Regions from separate parts of the Homo sapiens genome. Here region 2 is linked to region 1. Evidence: promoter capture Hi-C in human tissues and cell types (Jung and others, 2019). All regions are on one chromosome and are shown on one strand. The core of a region is centred on a gene start or on the middle of the fragment in contact, and the rest is flanking DNA. Distances in the headings are between cores, read along the strand shown. Region 1 holds the start of NEK9 (NIMA related kinase 9). Region 2 overlaps DLST (dihydrolipoamide S-succinyltransferase).

The links. The method cuts DNA at HindIII sites, captures the fragments that hold promoters and counts their contacts. A contact is called where the count stands out against the background at its distance.
Region 2: a contact is called between a fragment that was not itself captured here and the fragment with the promoter of NEK9 in region 1, in 1 of the 25 tissues and cell types used here (hippocampus).

Annotation. Positions count from the first base shown.
Region 1 is chr14:75,125,158-75,131,177 of GRCh38, reverse strand. It overlaps NEK9 (NIMA related kinase 9), which reads left to right and starts at 4,130. Exons shown (of 22, transcript NM_033116.6): 1 at 4,130-4,475. The coding sequence starts at 4,257. RefSeq lists enhancers at 4,077-4,206, 4,217-4,266. The HindIII fragment of the contact is 2,914 bases long and covers 2,505-5,418 here.
Region 2 is chr14:74,902,271-74,908,670 of GRCh38, reverse strand. DLST (dihydrolipoamide S-succinyltransferase) reads right to left here. Exons shown (of 15, transcript NM_001933.5): 15 at 4,928-6,400. The coding sequence ends at 6,341. It overlaps RPS6KL1 (ribosomal protein S6 kinase like 1), which reads left to right. Exons shown (of 12, transcript NM_031464.5): 11 at 1,141-1,236; 12 at 1,547-4,720. The coding sequence ends at 1,657. Among named protein-coding and RNA genes, the nearest start is that of RPS6KL1, 18 kb to the left of the region's middle. The HindIII fragment of the contact is 5,256 bases long and covers 2,249-6,400 here.

The sequences.
Region 1 (6,020 bases), core at 2,881-5,380:
TTTGGAAACTGTTACTATTAGGTTCGCACAAAAGTAATTGTGGTTTTTGCAATTAAAATTGCAATTGCATAGAATCACTCCTACAGAGAGCCATCTCCCCTGCCTTTCATTCCTAAAAGACCCCCACCCCCCACCCCCGGTATATGAATCCTCAGGACTCACTTTTTAGGCCTATCATATCCAATGCAAAACCCCACTCCAGGAGGTAAACGTCTTTTCTCCTCTCCTTTCACTTACAGTTGAACATTTTTCACAAAGCGACTTTCCAAGAGCCAATATGAAGTGCTTTGCACACCCACTGGCTGGCCTCTTATTTATCCTCTTATCTCCATTCTCCCTCAAATAAATTTTATTATGAATCCATAGTGTGTAAAGTAGTGGTTCCCATTATTGGGGTATAATTTTTTTTTCTTTTCTTTTTTTTTTTTTTTGAGACGGAGTTCACTCTTGTTGCCCAGGCTGGAGTACAATGGCATGATCTCGGCTCACCACAACCTCCGCCTTCCGGGTTCAAGCAATTCTCCTGCCTCAGCCTCCCGAGTAGCTGGGATTACAGGCATGTACCAGCACGCCCAGCTAATTTTGTATTTTTAGTAGAGATGGAGTTTCATTATGTTGGCCAGGCTGGTCTTGAACTCCCAACCTCGTGATCCACCCACCTCAGCCTCCCAAAGTGCTGGGATTACAGGCGTGAGCCACCGTGCCCGGCCCAATACATGCTTTATAAATCATTTATTTAGTCTGCTGCAGTGGTGTCTCATAAAATGTTGAGCTGCATGTATAATTTTAAATTTTCTAGTATCACATTAAAGAAGTAAAAAACAGGTAAAATTTGCTGATTCTCCAGCCTCCCGAGTAGCTGGGATTACAGGCACATGCCACCACGCCCAGGTAATTTTTGTATTTTTAGTAGAGATGGGGTTTCACCATGTTGGCCAGGATGGTCTCGAACTCCTGACCTCGTGGTCTGCTCACCTTGGCCTCCCAAAGTGCTGGAATTATAGGCATCAGCCACTGTGCCCAGCCGAAAATTATTTTTAGTAGTGTATTTAACCTAATATACCCAAAATATTATTTCAACATATAGTTAATATAAAAATGGTTAATGAGATGTTTTGCATTCCATTTTTCATATAAAATCTTGAAAATCCAGTGTGCATTTCAAGCTATACCGCATCTATAGCTTAAAATTAGACTAGCCACAATTCAAGTGTTGAGTAGCTATATGTAGCTAATGGCTACCGTGGCAGACAGTGAAGGGTATAAACTTGGGTTGGTCTTTGGTAGATTCTTTCATCTTGACAGTAACTCTATGGCCCCTGGGAATTTGCCATTCACAAATTGGAAACTAATGCAAAATAGCATTCTAACCATTCACTTGTTAAAGTACAATGTGGAAATAGTTTGGTTTCAACCAAAGGCGCTTTAAAATTTTACACCTTGGCCAGGTGCAGTGGCTCACACCTGTAATCCCAACACTTTAGCAGGCCAATCACTTGAGGTCAGGAGTTCGAGAACCAGCCTGGCCAACATGGCAGAATGCCCTCTCTACTAAAAATACAAAAATTAGCTGGGCATGGTGGCGGACGCTTGTAATCCCAGCTACTCAGGAGACTGAGGCATGAGAATCACTTGAACTTGGGAGGTGGAGGCTGCAGTGTGCTGAGATCATGCCACTGCACTCCATCCTGAGTGACAGAGTGAGACTGTCTCCAAAAAAAAAAAAAAAGTTATACCATTAGAATAAATGTTGACTATTTTTGAACTTATAAATATTCAAAGGTAAGACAATTAGTTTCAGTTATATCCAATATAATGAAGAATTCAGCAGGAATGTCTCTGCTCTATAATAGGACATGTTTCTTCTAGGCTTGTAGTATCTATGCATTATCATTAGAACAATTCAGTTTCAGGCCAACCACGTTATAGAAAACTAGTTCCTCGTTGCAAAGGTGCCAGAAAAAAATGAATTTTTAAGCTTAGGCTGAAATCTATTCAGCCTCTTTGAAAGTCAGCATTCCCAATTTTAAGTAATTGGTTTTTTCCCATTCAACTGAGAAACAATTTATTGAGCATCTTTTCTGTTTAACAGAGTTAATCGAGAATAACAGAATTAAGTTAATAGAATTAACAGATTTAAGCCAAACTAAACTCTGGAGTTTATCTAGATAAACAAGAGGCAATACCTATCCTCAAAGTGCCTTCTAATTAATAGGAGGATGTAGATGGAATGGCCTCTACCTGAAATGATCTCTCTACTTTGTTTAGACTTAACATTTTGTATATTCCTGCACTCACACAGCAAGTTTGGCTTGGACAGATGCCACTCCTAAATGCCTCTCTAGAATCTTGCACTTTAATAGCCCTTATAGAAACTGTTTTAATTGCCTGGTGGTTTTCTGTTACATGTAAGCTCTCTTAAAGTAGGAACTTTTCACAAATCGATATGACACAATGTATTTTTATGTATTTGAGACAGGTTCTCACTCTGTTGCCCAGGCTCGAGTGCAGTGGCATGATCTTGGCTCACCGCAACCTCCGCCTCCCCAGTTCAAGCAATTCTTGTGCCTCAGCGTCCCAAGTAGCTGGGATTACAGGTGTGTGCACGCCTGGCTAATTTTTGTATTTTTAGTGGACACGGGGTTTCACCATGTTGGCCAGGCTGAACTCGAACTCCAGGCTTCAAGTGATCGGCCCTCCCAAAGTGCTGGGATTACAAGTGTGAGCCACCACGCCCGGCTAGGCACATGGCTTTCTCTTAGCCCCATCACATCCTGCTTTTTCAGATTGCTGGGTTCAACTTCCCAGCTCCCTCTTACTAGGTCTGTCACATTAAGCAGGTTACTTAGGTACCTCTGTTTCTGTAAAATGGGAATGTTAGGATAATACATAATACATAATACATAGGATAATACATAATAATGTGAGATAATACGTAAAAAACCTTTAGCATAGTACCCAGAACATAACACTCAATAAATGTTAGCTGTTATGTCTGTGATGTAGACCACATTCTCACAACAAAACAAGCTTGGAGATGAGAAGTTGCCCAAGGTCACATAATTGCCCAAGGTCACATAACTGATGGAACACCTATTGTTCACCGTATTGCTGTTTTCCTACTTGACGGTAGGGAGAACATTATTGCAGATTTCCTGTTCCCAAACAGTGTGTGGCACCAAGTGCTCAAAGAATGTTTCATGATATCATATGGTCAAATATCTGGAAAAACACATAGAATAAATTGAATCTGGAAAAAGAGACGGGGGAGAAGGAAAGTGTCAGGAGAGTTGACTTAAAATATTTTTGGAGTTGTGTAGAAGAGGGAGGGACTTAGGATGGCCCTGGGAGAAAGAACTCGGCCCAGGGACCGAGATGACCGGAGGCAGACATTTAGGCTGTCTATATTATTATTATTTTTTTTTTTTTTGAGACAAAGTCTCGCTCTGTTATCCAGGCTGGAGTGTAGTGCGCGATCTCGGCTCGCTGCAACCTCCTCCTTCCGGGTTCAAGTGATTCACCTGCCTCAGCCTCTGGAGTAGCTGGGATTACAGGTGCCTGCCACCACGCCTGGCTAATTTTTGTATTTTATAGAGACGGGGTTTCACCAGTTGGTCAGGCTGGTCTCAAACGCCTGACCTCAGGTGATCCGCCCGCCTCGGCTTCCTAACATGCTGAGATTACAGGCGTGAGCCACCTTGCCCGGCCATATTATCTTTACTATACTATCTCTCTAAAAAAGAATGCTGTCCAACGTTGGAATGGGGAAGAAGGTGTACACTGGGAATGCTTCCCCAATCACCCTCTTGTCACAGACCTGACGTCAAGATGAGACTGGACGACCTCTGGGCCTCCAAGTTGTATGAGTCCGGACCGGGGAGGCAGAGAAGGGTCAATAGACCCGAGAGGCCGTACCGTCAGTGATGCCCTTGTTCCCGTGGGAGCCCTTCGGTTCCACGCGGTTCCCACCACGCGCCCGCCAACCCTAGCCCGAGGCCTCACTTTGCAGGCCTTCCCCGAAAGCGGGAAGCCTTGGCCGCTAGACTAGCCAAGAGGGTAAGCAAAGGCGGAGGAAACTCAGCCAGGCCGGAAACACAGAGAACTGTTTCCGGGTCGGGGGGCAGGAGCCACCATCGAGCTTCGCGGGGTTGCTGGGCTGACGGATCCGCGGGCCGGCATCTGAAGCGAGCGGGACGCAGCGCGGCCAGGGCCTCCGGGCATACGCAGGCTGGTCCCCAAGGCCCGCGGCCGCCGCCATGTCGGTGCTGGGCGAGTACGAGCGACACTGCGATTCCATCAACTCGGACTTTGGGAGCGAGTCCGGGGGTTGCGGGGACTCGAGTCCGGGGCCTAGCGCCAGTCAGGGGCCGCGAGCCGGCGGCGGCGCGGCGGAGCAGGAGGAACTGCACTACATCCCCATCCGCGTCCTGGGCCGCGGCGCCTTCGGGGAAGCCACGCTGTACCGCCGCACCGAGGTAGCGGCCCTCGGCGCCGGCCGCCCTGTCTGGCGCTGTCGGGTCGCCCCGAGTCCCTCCTTCTCGGCCCCGCTTTCCCAGCGTCGTGAGCTTAGTGCTTTAGGCGCCCACGGGGTATATGTCTTAGGGTCTTCACCACTCTTCCCACTCACCGGCACTAGAAATTGGCTAGATCATTGGTTTGACTAGTCATTTTTGATTGTCCTAAGTCACCTAACCGTCTCTTGAGCTTTAGTTTCCCCATCTGTAAAATGGGCTTACTGATAATACCTTGAAATCATCTTTTTCTTTTTTTTTTAAGATTATCTTGAGAATCAAACGAAGGCTCTGTTCTGTAAATTAAAGTGGTATACGAATGTGAGGTATTGCCAAAACTTCCTTCCTCTCATGCTGTATATATAGTTCTCCAAGGTCGGGGTGAGGAGGAGGGGCATAGCTTCAAAATCCCCACACCCGTGGCAACTCCGTTATTTTTGTCATTATCTTTAAGTTCAGCAGTGATCACTCAGTTGGAAGCTTTTCTTGAAGCTCATTGGGAAGATCTTTGTGTGTTGGTTCTTTATCAGTGTTTATCTTGCAGGGTTTATGCATGGGAAATACTTTGTTGGTATATTCTAAGCCATTAGTTCTTAATTTGGGGGGCACAAGGACCCCTTTGATAACCTAAGCAAAGTAATCTTGCCCCCTCCATCAACACATTTGCACATATGCACATCCTTTGGAGAGATCCATGGATCACGGAATCCCAAGTTAATATATACTAGTGTAAAACCCTGCAGTGATTATTCTACTTCCAAAAACTAACGATACACTAGATTTGATCATAAAATCTTACTTTAGGGTAAACATTTAATGAGAACTTGCTGGGGTTGCTGAAGGTGATTCATCCGTCGGAAATCCATCTGCAGTTCTGGTGTGTGTTCCAAGCCAGCATACTTTTAAGGCTGAAAGATGGAGAAGGAGAGAAGTGGTTGCAAGAGAATATTTTTAAGTGTTCTTTTTTATCCTGATGCCACGTTAATGTATGATGTTAGAGTTAGTTATTCTTAGTAGTCTGTTTTCTTTTTTGCACTCAAAATGAGAAAGAGGAGATAAGGATTGTTATTTCTATATTTTAGTTAGAGAAACTAAAACAGTATACTTAAGTGACTTGCTCACTTAAGTTACAAGTAAATCTTGGACTAGAACTAAAGTCTCACATCTTGCCCATTGCCTTTTTATTATTATCCTGTTGAACTTGATTACTGGGTTGGTTTTGAGTTAAATTTGATTACACTTCCCAAAAATTGCATAGCGTTGTCCATATCACCAAATATTTATTAGATCTGTGAATTTACAAAAGTTCAGAAGCACTCTTTTTCTCTAGAAGCTTATATTTCAGTAGGAAAATAAGTTGACCATTGTTAGTAAACAAATAGCATTAAGTTGCATATGTAGAGATATGAAAAGAATGAACAAATATCATTTCAGTGTATGGGGTCTAAAAATTAAAGACATGGTTACAGTAAAAGCTTCATCAGAGTCTTTTCAAAAACACTGTAAAGG
Region 2 (6,400 bases), core at 3,627-6,126, 220 kb after region 1:
ACTGTCAACTTCTATGAATACGAGTAGAGTGGGATGGTCAGGGAAGGTTTCTGCCAGAGAGCCTGGGCCCAGGTGGTGTCAGATTTGGAGGAAGCGCGGAATGTGACACAGCCCTTCTTCCCTGGAAGGCTGTTCAATCATCCTGAGCCCGCTGTTCACTCCTCCCACCCATGACCTCGTTGGCTGTCACCCCCAGACCTTAGCTGGAGGATGGGAGAGAGGGGCTCTTTCACCCAGGCAAGCAGCTGCCCTGTCCAGCCTGGGTCAGCCAAGAGCTCAAAAGATCCCCCTGCAAACACTCCGGGAACCTGTGTTTGCAGGTTGCAATCAGAGCAGGCACTCTTGGGAACAGTTGATGGCTCTGCCTTCTGTCCTCCCCTCATGAGCTGAACACTGCAACTGAGGCCAGTTATGTAGGCAGCAAGGGGGAGGCCAAATTGCATTTGAGCAGGAAATAGCCGAAATGGATGCAGCGTGAACTGAAGTCCAGAGCTGACCAGTCCATCCAGGCTCCCTCCTGCTTTCGTCCCATGGCACGGGGTCCCGAAAGTCCTGGCTGCAATTTCCCCCAGAGTGGCTCTCTCTTTTCCTGTCTCCTCCCACCTCTCCAGCCCAGAGCTCTTGGCCTTCCTCCTGGGGGTTCCTGGAAGCTCATACTTCCCTCCAGACAGACCCTCTGCTCCTCAAAGCTGTGCCTTTCTGGGGTGTGGAGAGGTCCTATTTTCTTTTATTGCCACGCCGCTGCCTTGGCCCCGATGGTAGCATGCCATGGCCTGCTGCCAAATGAACAGCCCGTGTGGATTTTTAAAATAAGGAGACAAGTTCCATCACTATTCCCAAGAGTGCCTGCCCTGATTGCAACCCAAGATAGTTGCTTCTAGCAAGCTTGGAGCCAAGAGACCTAGGTTCAAACCCTGAACTCAGCACAAGTCCCTTTACCTCTCTGGGCCTGTTTCTTGCCTTTCGTGGATAACATAAAGGCACTGCTTAGCCATCAGGCACTGTGTCTGGCTGTAGCAACTATCATTATTGTCATCCTCCTCATGGGCTGTGACATGGGGAAAAAAAATCCTGGCTGCCACTGGAGTGTAGACGGTCCTGGGGTTGCCTCCTCAGAGGCCCTTCCCTGTGTCCTCCCAGGCACTGTCCCAGAGCCACCCTTCAGGAATCCAGGCCCACACCCAGCTCCAGCTGCCCGAGTGGCTCAGTCGCCCAGCGGCCTCTCTGCTGACTGAGGTGAGGTGTAGCCCGGCCAGAGGAAGCAGCTGCCTAGCCTGAGGAAGGTGCTGGGAGGGGCACAGAACTGTGTCTGAACCACGTGTGCTTCGTGCTCAGTGTCTGATGTGGGTGCAGAGGGCAGTAGGGGCAACACATTTCTATATGTTGGTGGCCAACCACCACCAATGTTCCCAGGGTAAAATGGGGGTTCTGTGGGCCAGGCTGCCAGGGAGCAGGCCCCCTAGAGGCCATAGTGGTTGGAGTCCCTGGAGGTCACCCCATGCCTCCACAGCTGGAGTGGCCCAGCTGACTGGGCCTCTCTCTGCAGCTGCTGCAGTTCGAGCCTACCCGGCGCCTGGGCATGGGAGAAGGTGGTGTCAGCAAACTCAAGTCCCATCCCTTTTTCAGTACCATCCAATGGAGCAAGCTGGTGGGGTAAGAGGGCAGAGCGGGTGACGGAAGCAGCTGGCCTGGTCTGGATCGCCTCTCCTCCTTGCCTGACACCCAACCCAGGGCTGGCCCTCTATCAGCGGGCTTTGGGCGAGGAATGGAGGGCACTGTCTGTCCTGCTGGGCTCCCACTGGGGCCTCAGAATTATGGCCACCACCCAGGAAGGGCCAGCTCCTGGAAAAGCTGGAGGTGGGGGCAGTCAAGGCTTGCCCTGCTAAGCAGCTTGAACCATCTACCCATCAGTCAACAGACCCGTTGAGCATGTGGACTCACCATGTTAAAGGTTGCCTTCTGTGGCACTGGCGCTGAGCTGTTGACCACCTGCTGCACCCTACTGTGAGGTTCTGTGACTCACTCACTGCCATGTTGTGCCCCACTCAGGACATCTCTGGAGACTCATCTCAGGACACTGATCCACTGGCTCAGTGGACCCAAACCAGACTGTCCTGGCTAGTCCTCTTAGTCACACAGCGAGTAGGCCTCTTCCACCAGAAGCTGTTCGTGCAGCTGGGGAGGCCCAGAAGCAGGGATGCCATCTGTTGTGCAGGGAGGGATGAGGTAGGGGACAGGATGACCCCCACCCCCACCCCCCCACCCCCGATTCCTGACCATGCCCCCTATCTTGTGATTTCAGACTTGGGAGAGCAAAAGGGAGGGGAAGAAAATAAGAGTAATGGGGGGAGGAAGGAATGCATGGGTCTGCCCCTTAGAGCAAGTCTGAAACCAGAATCAAGAGTCCTCCTCCCCAGTGGGCCTGTGTGGGGGAAGAGGGGCAGCCTGCCCCAGGGGTGCAAGAGGACAGCAATTCAGCTTCCAGGCCAAAGCAGTTTAGACAAGGTGTGCCCATCAGGACTCCCTCTCAGGCCCTGGCTGTTTACCATGTCACTGCCTACTGTGACTTCATGCCCTTTTGGGATAAGAAACCACAAAACGCATGGAACAACTATCCATGGCTCTTAGCCAGAAATGTCTTGCCTCTGGTCTCTGAAAAGCTGGGGTGAGTGGTTACCTCAAAGACAATTGCCTCCAGTTTGGGGGCTCCTCTCAGGGTTCACCCTGTCACCGGGGCGTGGGACCGACCTGGGAAATTTCCACTAGAGTTTTGCCCTCAGCTCCTCCCTGCCAGCATCCCAGTCACCACCAGGTGGCGCTTCTGACACGGTCCACGTGCCTGGCTCTGAAGGCCCAACTGTCAGACCAGACCCCTCACTCATGGTGGGGAGACTTGACTTCCTCGGGCTCTTCAGGAGACTGAGACAGAGAAGACAAGTGAAAGCGCAGCCTGTACATGACTCTCTGTGGTCCACGTCCTGCCTCTCCCTGGGGTTTACACGGCCCCAATAAAGCCTGCTCTGGCCTACGGTGTTCTCGCTTCTTCCATGCAATGACCACGGCTCATTGGGGCAGGTTGGAAGGCTCCCCTGTAGAAGCTCCAGAGTGAAGTCAAGAGCGAGCTTGGGGCTGCCAGGAAGTAGGACGCAGGGCTGGTGGTGAGCAGCATGCCATGTGGGCCTCAGGGGAAGGGGTGGGGTCGGGGAGGACCAGGTTCTGTGGGGAAGAGGATGAAGAAGCCTTGGAAGAGGCTCATGGTGCCTGGGGGAATACCAGTTTCATCCTCACAGTGACCCCTTGCAACAGACGGTAGCTCCTGAGAAAACTGAAGCTCAAAAAGGTTAAGGACACAACCTAGCCAGAGTTGCAAGTTAGTGTTCCTTCTGCTACTCTCCCTAAGTCAGGCTGGACCACTTCCAACCACCGCTTCATGAAGCACAAGTCCCTTCTGGAACTTCTGTGCTTCATCCACCCAAAGCTACACATCTGACACTTTGTTGGGCCCTGAGTTTAGAATACTGTGGGTCCCAGCTCTTACAGTCGACCTCCTTTCGATAAAATGGGGTAAATAATGCCTATTTTGCAGGTTTACCAGATAGATAAATTAAAGCTTCTAACACCAAATCCTGTTCTTCCTTTCATTCAACCTAATTTGTTTTTCTATCTACTAGAGCTCTAGTTCTACTCTCTGGGACCCACTTCCCTCCTGTGACAGACCTTCACAGAGGGATGGCCTCACTGCAAGAGCTCAGCAGACAGGGACTCTGGAAAAGACAAGGCTGTGTTTAAGCCTGGACTCCATCACACCTGCCACCTGCAGTCTAGGTTAGCTACCCACCCTGTACACTCACGCTCACTGACCACTGCTCCTAGGTCATCAACCCTCACCTGTTCATGTGTATTGACCTTGAGCATCTTGGTCCACAAGGCTATCAAATCCAAATGAAATGAGATGCCCCCACTCCTCCCAAATCCATCACTGAAATAATGTAAGCCCACACAAAAAATGCAAGTCTACTGGTGTTTTGAAAGGGCTTCACAAAGATGGTGACCCCAAATTCTCTATTCTAGAGTATGGCTTGACAGGCTCAAGGAAGGTGGGGCACTAAGAGACTATGATGCTTTATGGAAACAAAACAAAAAACATCCTAAGCCCCCCAACCATCTGTATGGACCCCTCGTCTCAGTCAAGGGTATTCCAAAGTTAACCTGAAACGCTAGTTCGGGCCATGGTGGGAAGAGGGAGCCAGCCATTCCTCATTATACTCCCCTCCCTTTTGGAATTACTGTTAAAACAGGCTCCTTAAGTCTGATGAGAAGCATTTACAATCTATTTTCTCTGAAGCCTGCTGGCTGGAGGCTTCATCTGCATAAAACCTTGGTCTCCACAACCCCTTACTGTAACCCAGACATTCCTTTCTATTGATTCCAGGTCTTTAGATAATAACTCTTTCAACCAATTGCCAATCAGAAAATCTTTGATTCTGCCTATGACAACATCCCCAGGTCTTGAGCTGTCCTGCCTCTCCAGACCAAACCACTGTACATCTTACATGTACTGACTGGTATCTTATGTCTCCCTAAAATGTATTAAATGTATAAAACTAAGTTGTAGCCAGACGACCCTGGACACATGTTCTCAGGATCTCCTAAGAGTTGTATCACAGGCCATCAGTCACTCACACTTGGCTCAGAATAAATCTCTTCAAATATTTTTACAGAGGTTGACTCTTTTTGGCAACACTTTCCCGGCTGGCAGTCAGGGTTCTACCTTCTGTCAAATTATGAGTGTTAAGTTCCACATAAGGGATTTCTGATTTCACAAAATAAGCAACAGGACCTTGAGTGGCTTTCAATAATTTCAGTGCAACAGTGCTGGGGACTTGTACCACCTCAGTAGCCAAAAGGAACAGATACAGGAACCCTGTTTGAGAATATCTGCCCTTTAATTTGCATTTAAAATCAGTTTCTTTAAATACTTTAGTTACAAGTTCTGAATAGTGAAGACAGAGTAGTAGATGCTGCAGGCACTCAGTATTGGCTCCCACCCCTTCCCCCCTCCCCCACCCCCAGGCCTCACTTCTTGGCTTAAGATACAAAAGGGCACTCTCTACTGGCCCTGGTGTCAAACGTCAGCAGCCTCAGGCCTGGATGCAGTTGGATACAAAGCCATGAATCCCAGTGGCTCCAAGGAATTCCAATGATTGTGCCCAGATCCACGGGCAACACACCTTAGAAATGACCTCATCCGTTTCACCACTAGGTACTAACACCCTCAGGGTGGTTTCCTACCCCAGTCCACGTCCTCCAGATCTGTGTCCTGCAGAGGAAGAGACAAGGCCCCGCTATAACGCAGGAAGGAACAAAAACTGCCTCCTCAGCCCAGGTGCTTACAGCAACTTAACTGAAAAGCTCAAGGCAATGTGAGTCAGTCTAGAGGAGACCTCCCTTCCCTAGTCTCTACCAGGCTCTGGCCCTTCCTCGGGACCACGCTTGGTCCCACTGCCATGATGTGCTAGAATCTGCTCTAAGAACAAGGTGCTAGAATGAGGCCCAGCAACCAGCAAAGGGGTTGGAAAGGGTTGCTACAGCCCCAGCTGTGTGAGATTGTGCCAAGACGAGTCTTCTTGGTGTCAGCCTATGATGGAGAGCGTGAGGGCAGGCCTGGGCTCTCCTTCTATGATGATTACAATGCATGACCTCAGGGGACCTCTGCCCTCTCCTCCCACTCACACACCCAGATCCCCTGGCCTGTGCTTCCTGGAAGAGGTAGAAGAGGCATCTTGAAGTCAATGACAACGGAGAATGAAGGTGCCATTGAAGAAGCAAAGCAGCACCTCTTTGCCTGTGTTCAATCCCTCCACACAAGTGGAATCAAGGGAGAATGTGCACAGCCAGGACAGAGGCTGCTCTGAGCTTGGGAGGCACAGCATCCTCCTAGAAGTCTCTGCAGAACAAACTTTCAAAAGATAGGAACTTAATCACATGGTCCCCAGGGGTTTCTCTATAGTATACCAGCACTAGGGAAAAGCAAAATCATCTTTGCAGAGAGCTGATGGAAGAAAGGCAGGAATATGAATGAGCATCCATTAAGGCTCTCTCTCTTAAGCCTAAGGAATTAAGATATTCGAGGCTATGAGACAGGTGCAGAGAGGGAGAGCCTGGCAGGAACGCCAAGAAAAGACCTGTGACTGCTGGTTACACAGTGCTCTGCTTCCTTGCTTGAGGCCAACAGCATGTGTCTGCCTGTCACCAGGCTAACCCGGGACCCATGAGGGGACAGGGAGAAGACTGGTTTTCAGTTCCTGCATGATCAACTTGTAGGGTGTGTGGGTTCCTCCTAAAGATCCAGGAGGAGGACTCTGGGATCCTCTACCGCTGCCTTGATTTTGCGGAGGAA